Linked DNA regions of Homo sapiens: regions 1, 3 and 4 are each linked to region 2. Evidence: promoter capture Hi-C in human tissues and cell types (Jung and others, 2019). All regions are on one chromosome and are shown on one strand. The core of a region is centred on a gene start or on the middle of the fragment in contact, and the rest is flanking DNA. Distances in the headings are between cores, read along the strand shown.

Region 1 (4,960 bases), core at 1,405-3,904, 420 kb before region 2:
ATCATTCGGAGTTTATAATCCAAGCAACTGATCATTTTCACAGATATCTCTATCTCATATCATACATATTTATTTACTATAAATAGAATATGTTATAATATGTTTAGGTATATAATACATATTAATATATTATAAAAGTATGTTAGTTAAAAGAGCGACAGATTTTCTTCACTTAATTAACTACTGTGTAAGAATGAATTCTGGCCTTTGCCCTGGCTTTCAGGAGGTGATCTCTACACCCTTGGAACTTCTGCGCGGTAGGAGTGTATTTGTTATTCATAACGAACCCTCAAGCACACCTCAACAGTTCATGCTAATGAGGTGATTTATGGTGAACCCCTTGGTGTCAACCCAACCTCCAGGGAGGGAGGAGAGCTGGAAACATGGCAATGATTCAATCAATTATTCCCACATAATGAAGCTCCCATGAAAACTTCAGATACTGAAGATCAAGTGAGGCTCCTCCTGGGCAGTATTCATTGAGTATTGTCTCACATAGTAGCCTGGAGGAGGTAATGCCATCCAGGATTCCACCTGGAGATGACCAGAAACTTTGCCTCCCAGAATTTGCCCAGTGTGTCTCTTTCTTTGGCCAGTTCTAATTTGCCTCCTTTCAATAGAAAACTAATTGCAAATATAGCACTTTCCTGAGTTCTGTGAGTCATAATAGCAGGTTATCAAAACTGAGTGTGGTTTTGGGAAGTCTCTGAACTTGCAATTGCTGTCCAAAGGTGAGGGCAGTCTTGTGGGGACTGTTCCCTCTGATGTTGCAATTTGGCAAACTCCTTACAACTACTTAGAGGAGATAGTATTTATGTTTCATTTCTCTTTTGTAGAGAAGAAAACTATCATAATGGGAGATCTAATGAAGCTCAAAAGCAAATAAGAGAAACAGGTGGATGAAGAAGGGGAGCCCAGAAGATAACAGACCATCAAGAAGTTTTAGAGTTAAGAAAAAGAAAAAGTGATGCTCAATCTTTGCCATATTGTTTGAATATTTGTCAAGTTGTATGAGTAATAGAATATGGAGAGAAATGAGTCATGTCCATAATTTGGTAAGCCTGAGATCAGGAGGGCAAAGAGATGGATACTAGAGAATTAGGAGTTATCTAGATCTAGTTAGTATCCTCATATCATCTAGGAGTCCACAGAACTCAATGTGGAAGAATGAATGTGCCCACTTGAAATGAATAAAATATTCTTTTCACAACAAAATGAATGATTTTGGATAAGCCATTCTTCCTGCCTCACAAAGGGAAGTGATGAACATCCTTAATAATCAAAGGTATTGCCACTGAAAATGGAAATCCTTTTACTGTAAGTCCTTCTTTTGAAAGGAAGGACCATATTCTTTTTTTTTTTTTTTTTTTGAGACAAGAGTCTTGCTCTGTTGCCAGGGCTGGAGTGCAGTGGCGCGATCTCAGCTCACTGCAACCTCCGTCTCCCGGGTTCAAGCGATTCTCCTGCCTCAGCCCCCTGAGTAGCTGGGACTACAGGTGTGCCACCACACCCACCTAATTTTTGTAGTTTTAGTAGAGATGGGGTTTCACCATGTTGGCCAGGATGATCTCGATCTTTTGACCTCGTGATCCGCCCTCCTGAGCCTCCCAAAGTGCTGGGATTACAGGTGTGAGCCACCACACCCAGCCAAGAAGGACCATATTCCAAACATTGTTTTATATCATATTGTCTATCTTGTTTGAGTTTCCTGCATTTTTTTTTATGAATGATTTAAAAGACACCGATCAAACCCATAGTTCTAGGGCACATGAGAATGTAATGTTCAATATGTGCTTGAAGAACAACCATGCAGGGACTGTCAATCAGGGCTGCAAACTAAGATATTTAAAGAGTAGCCAACAGTCAGGACGGGTAAGTCAAATTTGAGGGACTACAGAATTCAAGGAAAAGTCAGGAATGTGGGGAATCTTAACTAATCAAGAATTTAGGGCGGGACTTAGGGAGTCAATTAATCAGGCAGCTCAAAGCAGAACTATACAGCTACTGGGATATGTAGGGGGGTCATATATGCTTATCGCCATTTTATAAGGAGGCTGTCCTATTCAATGAAATTATCTTAGAATGTGGGAAAATTTAGCACCTATTCTCCAAAAGCAGAAAAAAGGACAGAGTGCCTCTGTAACAATGTATGTCTACACAGACATGACTACAGGGATTTATGGAGGGTTCAGTAAGTGTCACACTAAACAAAGTCTAGGATGAAAAGTGAAAGCCATTAGCCGTTTTTTATTCAGAGTGGAGCCCTAAGGAATGGTATAGCACAATACAAAATTTTGTTATTTAATCAGGAAAAATTCAAATCCCTTAACACAGGATCAGCATACAATAGAAACTCAAATGAGGGACTCCTTATGACAAAATGAAGGGAAAACAGGTAATTCAAACTAAAATAATTAAAGGAGACAATACAAATTTAAGGAAATTTAAGTCTGCTAACTATATAAAAATACATAATACTTTTTGAATATGCTGTTCCCTCTACAAAGAACGCAGTTCTCCAACACATTTGCCTCTTCGTCCAATTAATTTCCCACCACATGTCAGCTCCAGTGCCTTTGTTTTCCCAAGAGAAGCCTTAACGTGTCTCCAGTGAGTTTCCTTTATTTTATATTCTCATACAACTTTGCTCTTTCTTTTATCTCTTATATTTCAATTTTCAATTACATAAGCATTTGTATAATACCTTTCTCCACCACAAGACTGTAGGTACTATATCTATCTTTATTCACTATTTTAACCCTATCACCTAGAATATAGCTTTTCTCTCGCTAGCAGTTCAAACATATGGCTTGAGTGCATAAATGGATGAATAAATGAATGTCATCACCAACAGAAGCCATTAGTATACTTTTAATTCCAATTAAAATAAGCAGAATACAATGTGTTTGTCCATAAAGATCAGATTAACACGTAGAAAAAAATCTGAGGGAAATGAAGGACAAATACAGAATACTACTGAAATTTCCCCTTTCAGAAATTAAAAAAAAAATAATAATTGAAACTGGTGACTTCCCTTTCTTTGGGCAATGTCTCCTCTAAACCCAGTTACTGAAATCAGATGACATAATGAAGTAACTGTACAGTAATTTATCTGTGCCAATGGAGGATGCTTTTGAAAACAGTCTTAGTCATGTTTCCATTACATTCAGCAGCGTTATTCGCTTCTGAAGCTCCCAGTTGTAATTGTGATGAGGAGAGTTGGAGAAGAACTTGGTGAAAATGATTATAAAGCAGAGAAACAGATACCATGATGAAAGCTTAAAGGAATCAGGATTATTTCATTCCCAGAAAAAAGCCGGCAGATTAAATAATGGAATCATATGGGTGGTAAGCAGCTGTTCTACATTCCCAACAAACATAGGTAAGGGAAGAAGGACTCAAGCTCAGCATCAAGAAATCCTCCTCCGGGCCAACAAACCCTCCATCATACCGACACGTGTAGCAGTTAACCTCCCACTTTGAATGCTCAGCCTCTTCTCTCTTTCCTCATGGATCTCCTTACAAGTTCTTCTTGTAAAAAAAATCTCTATGACTACAAAAGTTTGTGAAAACTCTCCCAAGCCACCACTCATCCTCTACAGCAATTATTTTAATCCAGTGTCTCTGAAATATTTTTAAAGCATTTGATTAAGAAGCCTCAAAAGGGTGTCAGATTTCCTTAATGTCTTAAGTCAAAAACAAAAACATATCAGTGTGGATGAAACACATATATAATTTTCCATAATGTTGGGATACACACTCAGGAAGACAAGATTTTTAAGGGAACACATGCCTGGTTGTGTTGTTGTGTATTGGCTCAAATCTAAATTCCTCTTCCTCCCTTTTTAAGCTCGTCATCAGTAGCAGTCCTGATTGGAAGCAGGTGAGTGAAGACGGTAAGGATTAGGTTGCAACATTCCTTTCAGATTTAGAATAACATGTCCTTGAAATAACACTAGGTCATCAGTTTTTATTGAGCTGCATAAGCTCACCAACTTATTGCATAAACTTTATTCCCAGCCCTGGGCTTCTTTTCCCTTTGCTGATACTGGCAAGTATCAATATGAGTACAGAAAAGTTGAAAGTGAAGGGGGATAGATGGTATTCAGATCATCCTATCTGACTTCAGTATTTGTAGCCACTGATAATCCCAATTAGGAAGCAAACTAAATGATTGTTTTCCTTTACTGACTCACCACCCCAAACTGCCCCTAAAGACTAGTGATTTTGGGCCTTATTCACAAAAGAGTGCTTAATATGTTGTGTTCAATTTGAGGTCCTGGGATCCATCGTAAGTTTTTCCTCTACATCTTTGTCAAGTGGTATAGACAGTGATAACACATCTTGATATCACTGCCCACTTCGAGCATAACAAATGGTGATGTCTTTTCCCAGGAAAGCATACCCATTTACTCAACAAATCCAGTGATACAATGATGAACAAGACCAAAGTTCAAGAAATTTTTTACAGGTTCCTGTTTTTTATTCTCACTGGCTCAATGAAAACAGTGACAAATATTATAAAAAGTCACATATATTTTCAACAAAATAATTGAAAAGATTCCCAGTTCTAACTTTAGTTACAAATTCTATTTAGGTACCCTGACCATTTCTTCCCCCATGTTACCTGACCAAATTAAGGTAGGAAACAAATCTAGCAGAAATGTGTCTGGTGGAAGTCAATTACTAAAAAGTGTTCCCTAAATGAAAAAAAAAAAAAAGTCATTAACAAGTTTCTTGTTTAGACAGAGAAAAGACTAATAAAAAGATGCTATTTTGCTAGTGAGGATCAATTATAACTACTACCACTAAATGCAGATTATCAAGAGCTCTCTGGCTCTTACAATTTACTTACACCTACATGAGTTTTTTTCTTATTAAATATTACTAATCTGATACTCAATCAGAAATAGAATTACTGTTAATTTAAAACTCATTATAAATCTTAAAGCCTAGTATA
Region 2 (4,890 bases), core at 1,225-3,724:
GAGTAGCTGTGACTACAGTCGCGCGTCACCACGGCCGGCTAATTTTTGCATTTTTAGTAAAGACGGGGTTTCATCAGTTGGTCGGGCTGGTCTCGAACTCCTGACCTCAGGTGATCAGCGCGCCTCGGCCCCCCCAAGTGCTGGGATTACAGGCGTGAGCCACCGCGCCCAGCCGACTTCCCCACTTTTAAAGTGGCAGTGCCCTCTCCCTTCCCCTGTCTTTGCACTGTGCTCCAAACCAGAAGAAAGTTGCGGCTGGCTTTGGGGCTGCCTAATTCTATCGAGGGGGTAATCGGCGAATTCCGGGGATGTGCCTACACACACACACGCACACACACAGCCTTTGTCGTCCCCCTGCTTGAGGCACACTCCTCCAAAGAGGGCCTCCGGGGACATCCCCAGAGCCGCCTGAAATCCCCCTTGGGCGTGAAGGGCTCTCCGAGAGGACAACCTGGGCCACCGCGCCGCCGCTCCGGGTAATCGGGGATGGAGGAGACCCTGTCCTGTTACGTTCCGCAGCCGCAGACCGTCGCCCACCCCGCCACCCAACCTTGAGCCCCCAGAAGCCGCGGCCCCCAGGGGGCAGGGAGCGGCGGGAGGGGCCGCGCCGAGCGAGGTCGTCCCTCCCCTCCCCTCCTCTCCCGGAGTCCTGGCTCGGGCAGCAGCGCCGCCGAGTCCGCACCTGCCGCGCCGAGCGAGCCCCGCCCGCGCGCCTACAGCCCAGCGGGCCGAGGGCGGCCGCCGCACACACTCACCTAGGCCGAAGCGGTGGCCGGGGGCCAAGCCGTGCGACCCGGCCCAGGTCCTGGTGCGGGCGGCGGCGTGCACGTGCCGCATCAACCGCGGCGGGGAGGGCGAGGCGGCATCGCCGGAGTTGGAGCGCCTCGGCTCGCGGCCTCCCCCGCCCCCGCCGCCACCGGCCAGGAGCGCTCCCCGCGGCCCCCTTCCGGCTGCGGAGGGCAGTTCTCCCGCGGCTCCGCGCGGCCGGGCCCGGACCTGTCACGGCTGGTGCTCGCCGGGCGGCTCAGTAACATCCACCTCGGGAGGTCTTCTGCAGCCCCTTTCCAAGAACCAGTTTTTACAAATCCTTTCAGGAAGGCTTCCCAAGTCTCAGAAAAACAAGTAGGGGAGTGGCGGAGTCGAGTGCGTGACGGGCCAGCTGACGGCACGGTGTGCTCAGAGAACTCGGGTTCTAGTCGCTCCTCGCAAGGAACGAAGGAAGGGATGGCGGCTTCCTGACGAGCGAAAAATCCACGTCACGGGCGTTCGAGACTCCGCAGCGCCCGGGTCGGGGCCCGAACCGCCGTCGGCGGGTGGGTCACGGAGCCGCGCAGTACCCCGGCGAAACCTCGGAGCACGCGCCTGCCAGGCAGAGGCTGCCGCGGCCGGGAGGGGGAGGGGGATTTTTTTACCCTTTTCTTTTTTTTTTTTTTTTTAGCGGGGAGGAGTGAAGAGAGTGAGGTTTGGGGATCCTTCTCGGAGAGAGAAAGGCGGGCGTCGTCCCTTGTGCCCCGCGCAGGCCGACGCGCTTAGCCGATTCCGCACGTTGGGCAAGTGGGGGCACAGCGTCCCCGGGCACTCCGGTCCCGGCAGGTCAGCCTCTCCCGGGCAGCGCTCACACCCAGTCCTCCGAGCCTGGGGTTCCACGGCCGAAATGCCTGCGACAGAGAATTAGAGATAGAAGCTCGTGAATGTCCCTTTCTTCGAAGGGCTGGGACCCCGGGCGGGCCGCTGGCCAGCTCGCCCGCAGCCCGTTGCCATGTGCTCCCTGTTGCTGCTCCCGGTGATTGACAGGCCGGCGCACAGTCGGCGTGTCAGCCGCGAACCAAAGTAACATGCAGTCCTGCACGTTTTTGCCGAGGTGCTTTTGCCCCCTGGAATGCCTAGGAGTTCAAACAACGTTCAAGCAACGCCTCTGCGCGTTAGGAATCAATACACAGAGACGGGAAATTCAGGTTTTAAACCAATGCTTCACTCGGGATTCGGTCGCCAACAATGCCTAAACAAACACGCATTTGGTCCACACACCGAGTGCTAGCCCCTCTTCGCATAAAGGCATTAACGGCTCTGTGTTTCACAAATTCGATCGTTTCAGACTTTAAACGTCTACTGTTCGGTTAAGGAAAGGTGAAAGGGACCCTGCTTTTTCTTTTAGCGGTAGCATTTACTTTAAGAGCATTAGTTTTAGCAGTGGGAATGCTACCGGTGTTTTGAAATGCAACCAGTAACCTTAGCTGGAAAGCAAGTTCAAATAAATAAATGTTCAGTTCCTTGCAAAAGTCAACATTTCTCACCTTATCTTTCCTAAAATGTCTACGGAAGGAAACGGTACTTACCTAATGCAAAGATTGCAAATTGCTTTTCAGGCACATTTAACAGCGACTGTAGCTGTTCCTTATCCAGGGCAGGGAACTGTGCTGATAATCACTCTGCAAAGCACGCAGTGGTTTGCAGAGCGGTCTCACTCCGGCTACGCAGAATTTCAGCTCCTTGCCTCCACCTCCACCTCCACTCCAGGACACGCCTCCGGTGATATCATGTGTCAATCACTCGGGCTGCCCGAAAACCTGGAACAGGATTTCCTTAACTATCGTTTCCTCTTTCGTTTATGTGTACCAACTTGGAAATGTTGCCCTACAGACTCGTGTAATAAACATCCTCTTAAAACTTCGGGAGTGCCTCTAAAAATTCTGCAAATGCAGTTTGTCATAGAGGAATACATTCGGATTTAGTTAGCAATCTTCAGTTGTCGATCTCAATTAAAAGGATTGGTGGACTCTACTCTTAAGTTGAATTAGAAAAGAATTGTGAAGAATAAAAGAAAATGAAAAAAGTTGTATGCCAAGCCATCACTTCTGACCAACTAGAGGGAAAACGTATATTGACACAAAAAGATGATTATATAACATTACAGTTCCTATTTACAACAAAGTTCAGAATATGTGAAACCTAAAGTTCAAAAGGTGGCACTCCTTACTGCAAATGTAATATAAGCATATGTAATAAAGGTGAAATTTTCTGCTGTGGGTTTTTTAAATAATTGCTTTACCTTGGCTTGTTATATGATTTCCCAAAAATCAAGCACATGGAGAAAAAACCAAATTCTTTCAATTTTGTAATATAGTTGTATAATTTTGCAAAAAATACAAACCCGTATATTTTTTAATTAGCTAAAAGTCAATTAATTAGAATAGAAAAAATTTATCAAGAAGTTTTATAATTCTTAGTAATAGCTGATATGACTGGAAAAAAAACACTTTAAGTAGGAAACTTGATTTCTACTTTCTTACAAACTATGGGATTTTAGGCATTTATTATCAAAGTTGTGCCTTTTCATGCTGCAGTGAGGATAACTTTTTGTGGAATTGAAGGTTCCGTAGAAACTTTTAAAAGCCACCTAAAGACCAAAAACTTAGTGGAAAGGAAATATTTTTCCAGGTACTATATATCAGGAGTAGCTTAAAGTCTGGCAAAACAAAGCAAACAATAACAAAACTCTAGAATCTAAATCATATAAACATATAAGTATGGAAATTTTTAGTTCAAAGTACATTTTTAGTCTCATTTACAATAGCAAGTGGTTCTGTTGAAACTATAAATATATACATACATAACACACACGCACACACACAGGACTTTCAAATGTCTGAGCACTTTCAAAAATTAAAGTTGTGTTTGGAATTGCCTCTGAAGAACACAGAGCATTGTTAAGAACATGAATAACAATAAAAAAGCATCATTAGAAAATAGCATAGAATAAGAATCAAGCCAAAAAGCTACATATTCACTCTTAATATTATGAATTGTATTAAAATAGGCTATTTAAAAGAATAAAATTGATTTCATTGTATTTTTTTCATAGATCTCATTAGATTTGGGGATGTAATGAAATTTTACTAGTGATGGATAGGTTTCTTGTGAATGTATTTGGAATAGACAAATCAAAAATAGACTATCCTATCAGAGTATCTTATTTGGTTCTTCAAAACTATTACCACAGTTGTGAGCTGAGAGGTCAGTTCACCAATATGATAAAACCTGGAGAGGGAGCACTGAACATTCTACCTTCATAAATCCTACAAAATATATTTGAAAGATTTCTATTGCAAATACACTCTATTTCAACCAGAAATGTATTAAAATAATTTTCATTAGATCAAGTATTTTTAAATTATAATAATCAAATCCATGAGATTTTTATCTAAAACACCATCACCATGGGTCATGTTGTATTAAGAAATTAAATATGCTGTACAGAGTTGATCAATAACCCTCCATGTCATTTAGCACTAAAATGCATTAATATGTTTTTCTCTAAATATTACATTACAAATAAATGTACGTATAGCTCTGTCACCTTGGTTCTAAAAGACATTGAATGAAACTTGCCTCTCCTGATTCCCCGCAACTATAAGACTTTGTAGAAATTCTAAATTTTTAGCTTAAAGTATACATTGTTTTTCACTTGGTAAGTTTAATTACATTGTAACTTGACTAAAAATGGATAACGGAAGTATGAAATTTTTCCAAAAATGAAAAACAATGCAAATATCAATGGGAAAAATCTTATAATAATTTTTAGTTTATTAAGATATGTCTAAATAAAGTGGAATGGAAAGTGAGCCCTGACTTGTCCTTAATTTTCATGTGAAAACAAGATTAGCCATCGCTTGTGTTAATTTGAGTTTTGAAAAAGAATAAAGTGAAATGAAAAAAATTCAGTAACTCCTCACAACTTCTAGTGATTAAAAAAAAAAATGGCCAGGCATGGTGGCTCACGCCTGTAATCCCAGCACTTTGGGAAGCTGAGGTGGGCTGATCACCAGAGGTCAGGAGACCAGCCTGGCCAACATGGCGAAACCTGGTCTCTACTAAAAATACAAAAAATTA
Region 3 (5,027 bases), core at 241-2,740, 340 kb before region 2:
AAGAGCTAAATTATCTGTCCAGTTAAGTTGTCTGAAAGAAATTTAAAGTCAGGCCACTATCAGGCAAGCCCCATGAAAGGAAGTAAAATTCCTTCGTCAGTCACTGCCTTCATCCCCACGGATCCCAGTGAGGTCAATTTAAGAGTTCTACAAATAACCGTGGTTGGTGTACACTGAACCACATAGCATGCTAGAAGGTGGGGATACAGAAATGAATAATATGTGGTCCCTGCTGTCACAGAATTTATTCCATCAGAAAAACACAGACCCATAAACAGGCCATTCCAAAGTAACAGGGTCTATAATGACAGAGCTATTCCCAGCGAGCAGTTGAATCCAAAGGAAAGGAGGGTACTTGGCTCAGTAGGAAGAAGGCAAAAGCCTCATGGAAGCCTTCCCAGAGGAGACAAGCTCTGTGCTGAGCTTGGAAGAATGGATTGGAGACTTGGAGTCGGTAAGGTAAAGATGGGCAGACAAACATTACACAAGAAGCACCGACACATAAATTCAAAGCAGGATGTGATGTGCCGGGCACTGAAAGACAGTATCACCAGGGTACAAATTTTAAAGTGGGAAGACAAGGCTGCAAGAGCGCAGACCTTAGGGAATATGTGTACCACGTTCAGGAGCTTGGATGTTATCCAGTGGGTATTGGGAAGCACCTGAAAAACAGAACTCCTCCAATTCCTTCATGTCTCTCCCTTGTCACCAGCACATAGGACAACAGGGAAGTTACCCCCATTGGAAACAGGGGAGTGGAGGAGCCGGACCAGCCTGTTCTTTCTCCCCACCCCGCTGCCATCCTGAATTACTGTGTATTCTCCCTGTGCGGCCCCACTGGATTGAACATAGAGTATCTGGGACACAGAATAGAAGGGTAATAAGCTTCACAAAGAAGCGATATTAGAAAAAGACGTTAATTCTAATGCATGGCAAGGGAAAAAAACCATCAATAGCTAGAAATCAGAGAAGGAAGGCGAAGCATGAGCAAAGGAGATGGCACATGTAGAGGTGTGGGAAAATACATGCAAGGATGAGAGCCGAATATCCAGGAACACACTGGAAAGCATGTAAATCACTGCAAGAGAGTAGGCCTAGGTTTGTTTCACATGTGAAACAGTGTTTCGATGCTCAAATAAGTTATTCCTATACATATTGTAGTAGGTATATGATGGTATCTATTCTAAAATCTTCACATGGAAATCGGTCCCTACTTTATGTCATGGTCTATATTCACATAACAAATGAAATTAACCAGAAAAAAATATATATTGGAAATATTGAGTGAGAGAGTTGATCTGAGCGAGGGGAAAAAAACATAGGAAGAAGGAAGGCTGGACAAAGAAGAAGAGACATAAACAACTACAGCGATAACAGTAATTATAGAATGCTTACGATGTGCTACTATGGGCAGTTAAGGGCCTTCAGTGCATCTCATTTAATTCTCAACAGACTATTATTTTCCCCATGTTACAAGTGAGGAAACTGAAACTTAGAGGGTTTGAACAGTAGAGATGCTAAACTGAGGCCATGCAGGTAGTATATGGCAGGACTGGAACTGGAATCCAGGCAGTCAGAATCCAAACCCCCTAAGAGGGAAGAGATTGCCCTAGTAAAGAGAATAACTACAGGTTTTAACAATGCATTTAGTGAGGCAATACAAACAAAAAACAAACAAAATCCTAACAACAACAAAAACAGACTTCCTTGTGCAGAAATGTCATGAAAAAAGAAGAAACTAGGCTAGGGGTGGTGGCTCACGCCTGTAATCCCAGCACTTTGGGAGGCCGAGGCAGCTGGATCACTTGAGGTCAGGAGTTCAAGACCAGCCTGGCCAACATGGTGAAACCCCATCTCCACTAAAAATACAAAAAGTAGCTGGGCATGGTGGCGGGCGCCTGTAATACCAGCTACTCGGGACGCTGAGGCAGGAGAATTGCTTGAACCTGGGAGGCGGAGGTTGCTGTGAGCTGAGATTGCACCACTGCACTCCAGCCTGAGCGACAGAACGAGACTCTGTCTCCAAACAAACAAACAAACAAAACTAGTTTAATTGTCTCCAGAATGTCTGTGATAAAAAATTAACATCTGTACTCTTTTTCCAGCATGCTCCAAGTATAGACCATTATGAGGCACAGTAATTTGTTACTACTAACGAAGAATCTTAGATTATAAATGAAAATTCTGTAGGGAAAAAATAATGTCACACATCTAGAAAGAAACTATGAACAATATGCCTTACTTGATACGCGTACACATATTCTCCTAAAGGGAAAAAAAAAATTGCCATGCGTGTAAGTCCTGGCTACAAAAGAAAGGGATTTGCCTAAAGTTCTGACAGTGGAAGTGAAAAAAATCACTTTAGAAAAGGTCTCTTGTCAGCAAAATAAATTTCTAATTAGCCGTATCTTTCAATCAGCTAAATAAAGAGAGCAACTAATTACTCTGACCAGGAATTTCTTTATTCAATATTTTTTAGTCATCACTAATAGCCTTGAGAGCTTCATGATTCTGAATATTTCTTCATATTCAGGCAGAGTTAATCTGACTGTTGGGTCTGATTGCTCTGTAAAAGGACACTGCCCTGAAAATTGTTATATTCCATAAACTACAGGTTAGTTCAAACATGTAATAATGCCAGCTTCAAGAAGACAGTCCATAAAGTCATCATTTTATACCTCTAATTTTTATATTAATCTTTTTTAAAATAGTGCCTTTATCATCATTATTAATACTTACTGGTGGCTGATGACATCTTTAAATGATCAATGCAGACTTACATTCCAAACATCCTAAAATTCATTGATTCAGCAAATTTGTATCAAATGTCTAACAGGTCAATGAACTATAGAGGATGTTTTAGTGATAAGTAAGACAGGGAGTTGGAAACCAAGGGCCTTACAATTTAGTCAGCATCTCTTTTTATCAAATAACTCCCATAATCAAAGCGTAAATACTTAAATAAACTCACAGGCTAATCTTCCCCAGTACCTCTAAGCAAAGTTTATCTCCTAAGGGGCGATCTTTGTTCTATTTTCTGCATAACTTAACCATATTAAGAAACCCAGCCCATTTAGTAAGACTTCTATTTCTATGTCAATGGTGAATATGATGCCTGAAATTTTTACTTTTTCTTTCCAAATGCAGCAAAGTTCTAAATGTTCTTGTGGAGGAAGAAAACCAACTACAGAAATTATTTACTTTTTTAAAATTTTAAATGTGACATCTTCAAGTCATACTTTACACGATAAAACATTTCCACTTGCTGACGTGCTCCCCTCTAGCTGAAATGACACAATCATTTCAACCCACTGAATTTAAAATTGAAATACCTCTTTCTTCTTTCAGAAAGAAAGAGCCACCCTATGATTAAAATTTCCCACAGTTGCTTTTAAAGTGCTTAACATTTAAAAAAAAAAAAAAGTTTTTCTCTATTTTTATCGGAAATTACCCTCCCTACACAAACACTGTGGCTGGCTCTATGAGTGGCTTTGCAATAGTAGCCTTGCCCTCCCTCCATTCTCTGACTCTTTCTAGGAGTGCAAATGGACAGCTAGCTGCCTTTGAGGATTTTCTATCTTGTTCCACAGCCTCCCTCCAAACACTGGTTCCTTTCCCCTTTCCAGCGGCAGCTTCCCTCACATTGCTGAACAGCACAAAATGTCCTCTCAATCTGGTACTAGTTGCTATAGGAAATTGAGTTTTCAGATGATACAACGTTTAAACCAAATAACCTACTTAAACCTTTTCAAGTAAGAATATCTCTGAATTACTCCTGAGGTCATTATGTTTCCCTCTGCACTGCCTTTATTGGGCCATCGTCATTATTAAGTTATTTATTCACCCAACACTTTCTAAACATCTCTATTATGCAAATCACTTTACTAGGCCCTGCAGGAGAGAACTTTATGAAATTGGCACCTGCCTGCCCTCTGGTAACTCAGTCTAGAGGAGGCCCATGCCAGCCTACATAGCTCTATTACAGGGAAACGCTACCGAAGTGCTAGAATAGAGGAGGGGAAAGGCAGAGGGAATGGGAATGTCAGGAAGAGAGTAGGGCTCGCAAGATTCTCGGGGGAGTTGTTGACCTTGGCAAGAAAAGATTTTATTGATGTTTTGAGATTCAGCTAAATGAAAGCATAAAAAAGCACAAAAATTACTGAAATAAAGTAAAGAGGGACCACAATTCCAAACCATTAAAACACAAATTGGTATTCTTTTTTGGAATAAGGACCTGCCTAACAAAATCTCAATGTTTGTAGCTTGGGGGAAATCCCTGAGAAATAAAATAAAGATTCATAAGACTCAAGTTTTAAACCTTACTAATCTTAAGGCATCAACTATGTGTCTCCAGAGACCTGGGTGAGACCAGAACTCCTCTTTAGCTTATTTCCATTCCATTCTCAAGAATCTCCACTAATCCTTGCCACTCTCCCCAGACAAAATTCCTTTGGTCTGCATGGTTCAGGTTTAATGAAGCCACAATGATGCCTTCGCCACATTAGTATATGGCTTTTCCACATTCAATGTTCATTCAACAAACATTTGCTGAGCACCTATTACCTGCAAGACTCTTAGCTAAGGGAAGCAAAGATGAATAAAACACAGTTCTTATCTTTAAGGTGCTCACAGCAGGAGATCATGCATATAAACAGCTACCTGAAACAAAATATGAGAAACCCTGAAAGATTTGTAAGTAAGGAGCTGGGGACAAACAAGAGAGGGGCAAGTAAATTGACAAAGAGAAGGAAAGGAACCTTCGAAGACTTCACAGCAAGGAGACCTTGAGGAGCATGCAAAAGTATGCTCACTCTTTGCCTACAGGATGGTAACCAAATTTCTGGGAATGAAAGCAAGAGTCAGAGTTTAAAGGAGAAGATTTAAAAGGGTGAAGTATGCACTGTTAAGGGGTCTGCACCCATCCTCTAGGCATTAGGAAGAACTTTAAGCTACTTAGAACTTTTTTTTAATCCATCACCTCAAGCATTTATTTTTTCTTTTTGTTACAAACAATCCAATTATACTCT
Region 4 (4,532 bases), core at 1,344-3,843, 380 kb before region 2:
GGTGAAATAACACATTTGTGTTGGGTATTTCTCACTTGTGACTCACTTGTTGGATAGCTTTTTCCAGTCTAAGTATGTTAAACTTCATACTCACATTTATCAAATCATTGGGAATCCTGTGATTCATATAACTAACAGGAGGATTGAGAAAATCATTAAACAAATGCCAAAAGAATTTACGCAAAAGAATTGAGTTTGTTGTCTCACTTTTATGATTCCATGATTCTTGGAAATAGTTTTATAAATTTAACATATAATGCAATTCTCTTTTGTGAAAATCATTTTTACCTAAAATTTCTCACTATCTTTGTCAAACATATGAATCTATGAGCTGCATTAAATAAGTATATTCACTGAGATGTTAAATACATTTTTCTTTTAGGCAAAGTATAGGATATGCTAAAGACTTGTACATTAAGTTGTGATATTAATGGAAGGACAGACAGTGAACTGGATACATTTTGATTAAACTATGGCATACAGGAGTCTAAGTGACTTTTCTATCATCTATGCCAGGAAACATATCTACTAGGTTATTTTATTTTCTCCTTTGAAATATTCAGCATCCAACTTGCCCCCCAATTAAAAATGACTGAAATAGCATGGCCCACTTCTTGAAGAAGTCATGAATAAAACCCAAATCTCTGGAGTCTGTTGTCCTTGAAATACATAAAGGCTGAATGCTCAGAAGAAGTAGAAAAAAAATAGTTCTGAAACTCTTGGACAAATAAGAAGAGCCACTCTAAGCAGGGACTAAATTGGATTGGAATGTATGTTTGGATTATTCAGCCAAAGTAGATAATCAAGTATAACAAAACAAAAGCTTGATACCAAACTTGCGGGAAAATTTGTTTTGTCATCCTGAAACCTTCTCCGCTTTAAGCAAATCTTCCCCACCCAAAAGCAAATATCTTATCATACACCATGTTATTGGTCTTGGTCCACTGCACTGACCATAAAGGTAAGGAATCAGCCCACTATTTAGAGAAAATCCTGATTACATAAATTTAGTTTTCCAGTGGAGAAATTAGTCAATTTAAATGTATTTTACCTAAGTACATATCTACTAAATACTATATAATGTACTTGTCAAATTATTAGAAATCAGTAAGTCATGTTTCTATATGTTCAACACTGAGCCAGACACATTGAAAGACATAAAAGACAGCTCCCGTCATCATGATTACTGCCCAATTAATTAAGCAGTTGCTAATATTTGGAAACCTCAAGTCAAAAAGCTTAATAAAAATGCAATGATTTAATATGTCTACCAATTCCAATTCTCAAGTTCAATTGATTCAAATAATATAATTCTGAAACTAATTCATATGTTTGGAAGGACTCCAAGCCTTATTGTCACCACTCAAAATTTCTACCCCCATATAGAACAAGTTTTTCTTTCCTAGAATCATTCTTCCTGGAAGTAGTTTCCACTTCCAAGTTAAAACTGGATCTTTATCTTCACCCCTACTTTTCAAATCCCCCTCTTGATCTAGCTCTTGCCTCTCCCAACCTTCTGGTACATTCCTTAAGTCCTTCCTCCTCCTAAAGATCAGACTCTAGTGTCAAGGCAAAATTCTAACATCTTTAATGGTACAGGCCAACATTACAAAGTACATTGGCAAATGTAATTTATAACTTAGAATTTCATACACATTTCTTTTACATACACATGCATAAGCCTGCTTTCAAAATGCCAGACTTCAACATAGTATTGGGACTTCTGGCCAGGGCAATCAGGCAAGAGAAAGAAATAAAGGGTATTCAAATAGGAAGAGAGGAAGTCAAATTGTCTCTGTTTGCAGACGACATGATTGTATATTTAGAAAACCCCATTGTCTCAGCCCAAAATCTTCTTAAGCTGATAAGCAACTTCAGCAAAGTCTCAGGATACAAAATCAATGTGCGAAAATCATAAGCACTCCTATACACCAGTAATAGACAAACAGAGAGCCAAATCATAAGTGAACTCCCATTCACAATTGCTACAAAGAGAATAAAATGCGTAGGAATACAACTTACAAGGGAAGTGAAGGACCTCTTCAAGGAGAACTACAAACCACTGCTCAAGGAAATAAAAGAGGACACAAACAAATGGAAAACATTCCATGCTCATGGATAGGAAGAATCAATATTGTAAAAATGCCCATACTGCCCAAAGTAATTTATAGATTCAATGCTATTCCCATCAAGCTACTATTGACTTTCTTCACAGAACTAGAAAAAACTACTTTAAATTTCATATGGAGGCAAAAAGAGCCCATATAGCCAAGACAATCCTAAGCAAAAAGAATAAAGCTGGAGGCATCACACTACCTGACTTCAAACTATACAAGGCTATACTCTCTCAGAAGAGAGTGACTATAATATGCTTGATCTCCCCAAAGGAGACAACATGGAAAAGGACTTCAGTTGTACCAGGAGGAATTTAATTTAGAAAGCAAGATTTCCTGACATTGTGATTGAAGGTTCAAACAGGTTACAAAAATTGTTATGAAATCTCTTCTTAGAGGTCTCAAAAATATAACATTAACAGTTTTGAAATAAGACCTTGAATAGCAAATGCTGATTATTTTGATTAATCCTTTTTGAGAGAATAGTTGATCAATGGCTCTGGTAGCTAAGGGACTGGCAATGCAAAAACCAAACCAGCATGATACTGGTACCAAAACAGATATATAGACCAATGGAACAGAACCGAGGCCTCAGAAATAATACCACACATCTACAACCATCTGATCTTCGACAAACCTGACAAAAACAAGCAATGGGGAAAGGATTCCCTATTTAATAAATGGTGCTGGGAAAACTTGCTAGCCATATGCAGAAAACTGAAACTGGGCCCCTTTTTTATACCTTATACAAAAATTAACTCAAGTTGAATTAAATACTTAAGTGTAAAACCTAAAACCATAAAAACCCTAAAAGAAAACCTAGGCAATACCATTCAGGACATAAGCATGGGCAAAGACTTCAAGACTAAAAAAACAAAAGCAATTGCAACAAAAGCCAAAATTAACAAATGAGATCTAATTAAACTAAAGAGCTTCTGCACAGCAAATAAAACTATCATCGGAGTGAACAGGCAACCTACAGAATGGGAGAAAATTTTTGCAATCTACTCATCTGACAAAGGGCTAATATCCAGAATCTACAAGGAACTCAAACAAATTTACAAGAAAAAAAAATAAGCCCATCAAAAAGTGAGTGAAGGATATGAACAGACACTTCTCAAAAGAAGACATTTATGTGGCCAACAACATATGAGAAAAAGCTCATCATCACTGGTCATTAGGGAAATGCAAATCAAAACCAAATTGGGATACCATCTCACACCAGTTAGAATGGCGATCATTAAAAAGTCAGGAAACAACAGATGCTAGTGATGCTGTGAAGAAATAGGAACGCTTTTACACTGTTGGTGGGAGTGTAAATTAGTTCAATCATTGTGGAAGACAGTGTGGCGATTCCTCAAGGATCTAGAACTAGAAATACCATTTGACCCAGCAATCCTGGGTATATACCCAAAGGATTATATACCATTTTACTATAAAGACACATGCACACGTATGTTTACTGCAGCACTATTCACAATAGCAAAGACTCGGAAGCAACCCAAATGCACATCAATAATAGACTGGATAAAGATAATGTGGCATATATACACCACGAAATACTATGCAGCCATAAAAAAGAATGAGTTCATGTTCTTTGCAAGGACATGGATGAAGCTGGAAACCATCATTCTCAGCAAACTGACACAGGAACAGAAAACCAAACACCACATGTTCTCACTCCTAAGTGGGAGTTGAACAACGAGAACACATGGGCACAGGGAGGGGAACATCACCCATCGGGGCCTGTCGCGGGGTGGGGGGCAAGAAGAGGGAGAGCATTAGGACAAATACCTACTGTATGCAGGGCTTAAAACCTAGATGACGGATTGATGGGTGCAGCAAACCACCACAGCACATGTATACCTATGCAACAAACCTTCACCTGTATCCTAGCCCTTAAAAAATAATTTTAAAGAAAAGAATTTTTTAAACCAAAGCTTCTAACATGAGTTGGTTCCTCTCCCTTGTGGAAAGCATAGGCTTGGTAGTCAATGCTTTGCAGTAGTGAGTTCACCACCACAGACAATAAATCCTATCTGTAGTGAGGGACAAAAAAAGGTCTCATTCTCGGAGAAATACAGAGGTAAAAGAAAGAAAGTTAGGCCTAAGGGAAATTACTGTTGCTGGGTGTCCATAAAGCTTGGCTGCATCCCTCTCTTTTAATGCTTGCTTTGTTCAGAACTTCACTGGATTCTATGAGCCAATAAATTCCCTATTTTTCTTAAACTAGTTGAAGTTGGGTCTCAGTCACATGCAATTCAAGGAGTTCTAACTCATATAATTGCCCTCATTTTTTTCATACACCTATTCCCCTTTCACCAATTGCAAGCTTCTGGGATGCAGGTATATTAGGCTGTTCTTGCATTGCTACAAAAAATTCCTGAGACTGAGTAATTTATAAAGAAAAGAGGTTTA

The links. The method cuts DNA at HindIII sites, captures the fragments that hold promoters and counts their contacts. A contact is called where the count stands out against the background at its distance.
Region 1: a fragment that was not itself captured here is called in contact with the fragment with the promoter of SPRY1 in region 2 in 2 of the 25 tissues and cell types used here (aorta and dorsolateral prefrontal cortex).
Region 3: a fragment that was not itself captured here is called in contact with the fragment with the promoter of SPRY1 in region 2 in 2 of the 25 tissues and cell types used here (dorsolateral prefrontal cortex and heart left ventricle).
Region 4: a fragment that was not itself captured here is called in contact with the fragment with the promoter of SPRY1 in region 2 in 1 of the 25 tissues and cell types used here (dorsolateral prefrontal cortex).

The regions. Positions count from the first base shown.
Region 1 is chr4:123,815,632-123,820,591 of GRCh38, reverse strand. All of the region lies in intron 3 of LINC01091 (long intergenic non-protein coding RNA 1091), which reads right to left. Among named protein-coding and RNA genes, the nearest start is that of LINC01091, 170 kb to the right of the region's middle. The HindIII fragment of the contact is 9,548 bases long and covers 1-4,960 here.
Region 2 is chr4:123,394,379-123,399,268 of GRCh38, reverse strand. It overlaps SPRY1 (sprouty RTK signaling antagonist 1), which reads right to left and starts at 2,474. Exons shown (of 3, transcript NM_001258038.2): 1 at 2,337-2,474; 2 at 1,413-1,658. RefSeq lists a silencer at 490-1,039. The HindIII fragment of the contact is 12,155 bases long and covers 1-4,890 here.
Region 3 is chr4:123,735,139-123,740,165 of GRCh38, reverse strand. The region is part of intron 3 of LINC01091 (long intergenic non-protein coding RNA 1091); the gene reads right to left. Among named protein-coding and RNA genes, the nearest start is that of LINC01091, 88 kb to the right of the region's middle. The HindIII fragment of the contact is 6,603 bases long and covers 1-4,791 here.
Region 4 is chr4:123,778,854-123,783,385 of GRCh38, reverse strand. The region is part of intron 3 of LINC01091 (long intergenic non-protein coding RNA 1091); the gene reads right to left. Among named protein-coding and RNA genes, the nearest start is that of LINC01091, 130 kb to the right of the region's middle. The HindIII fragment of the contact is 3,124 bases long and covers 1,032-4,155 here.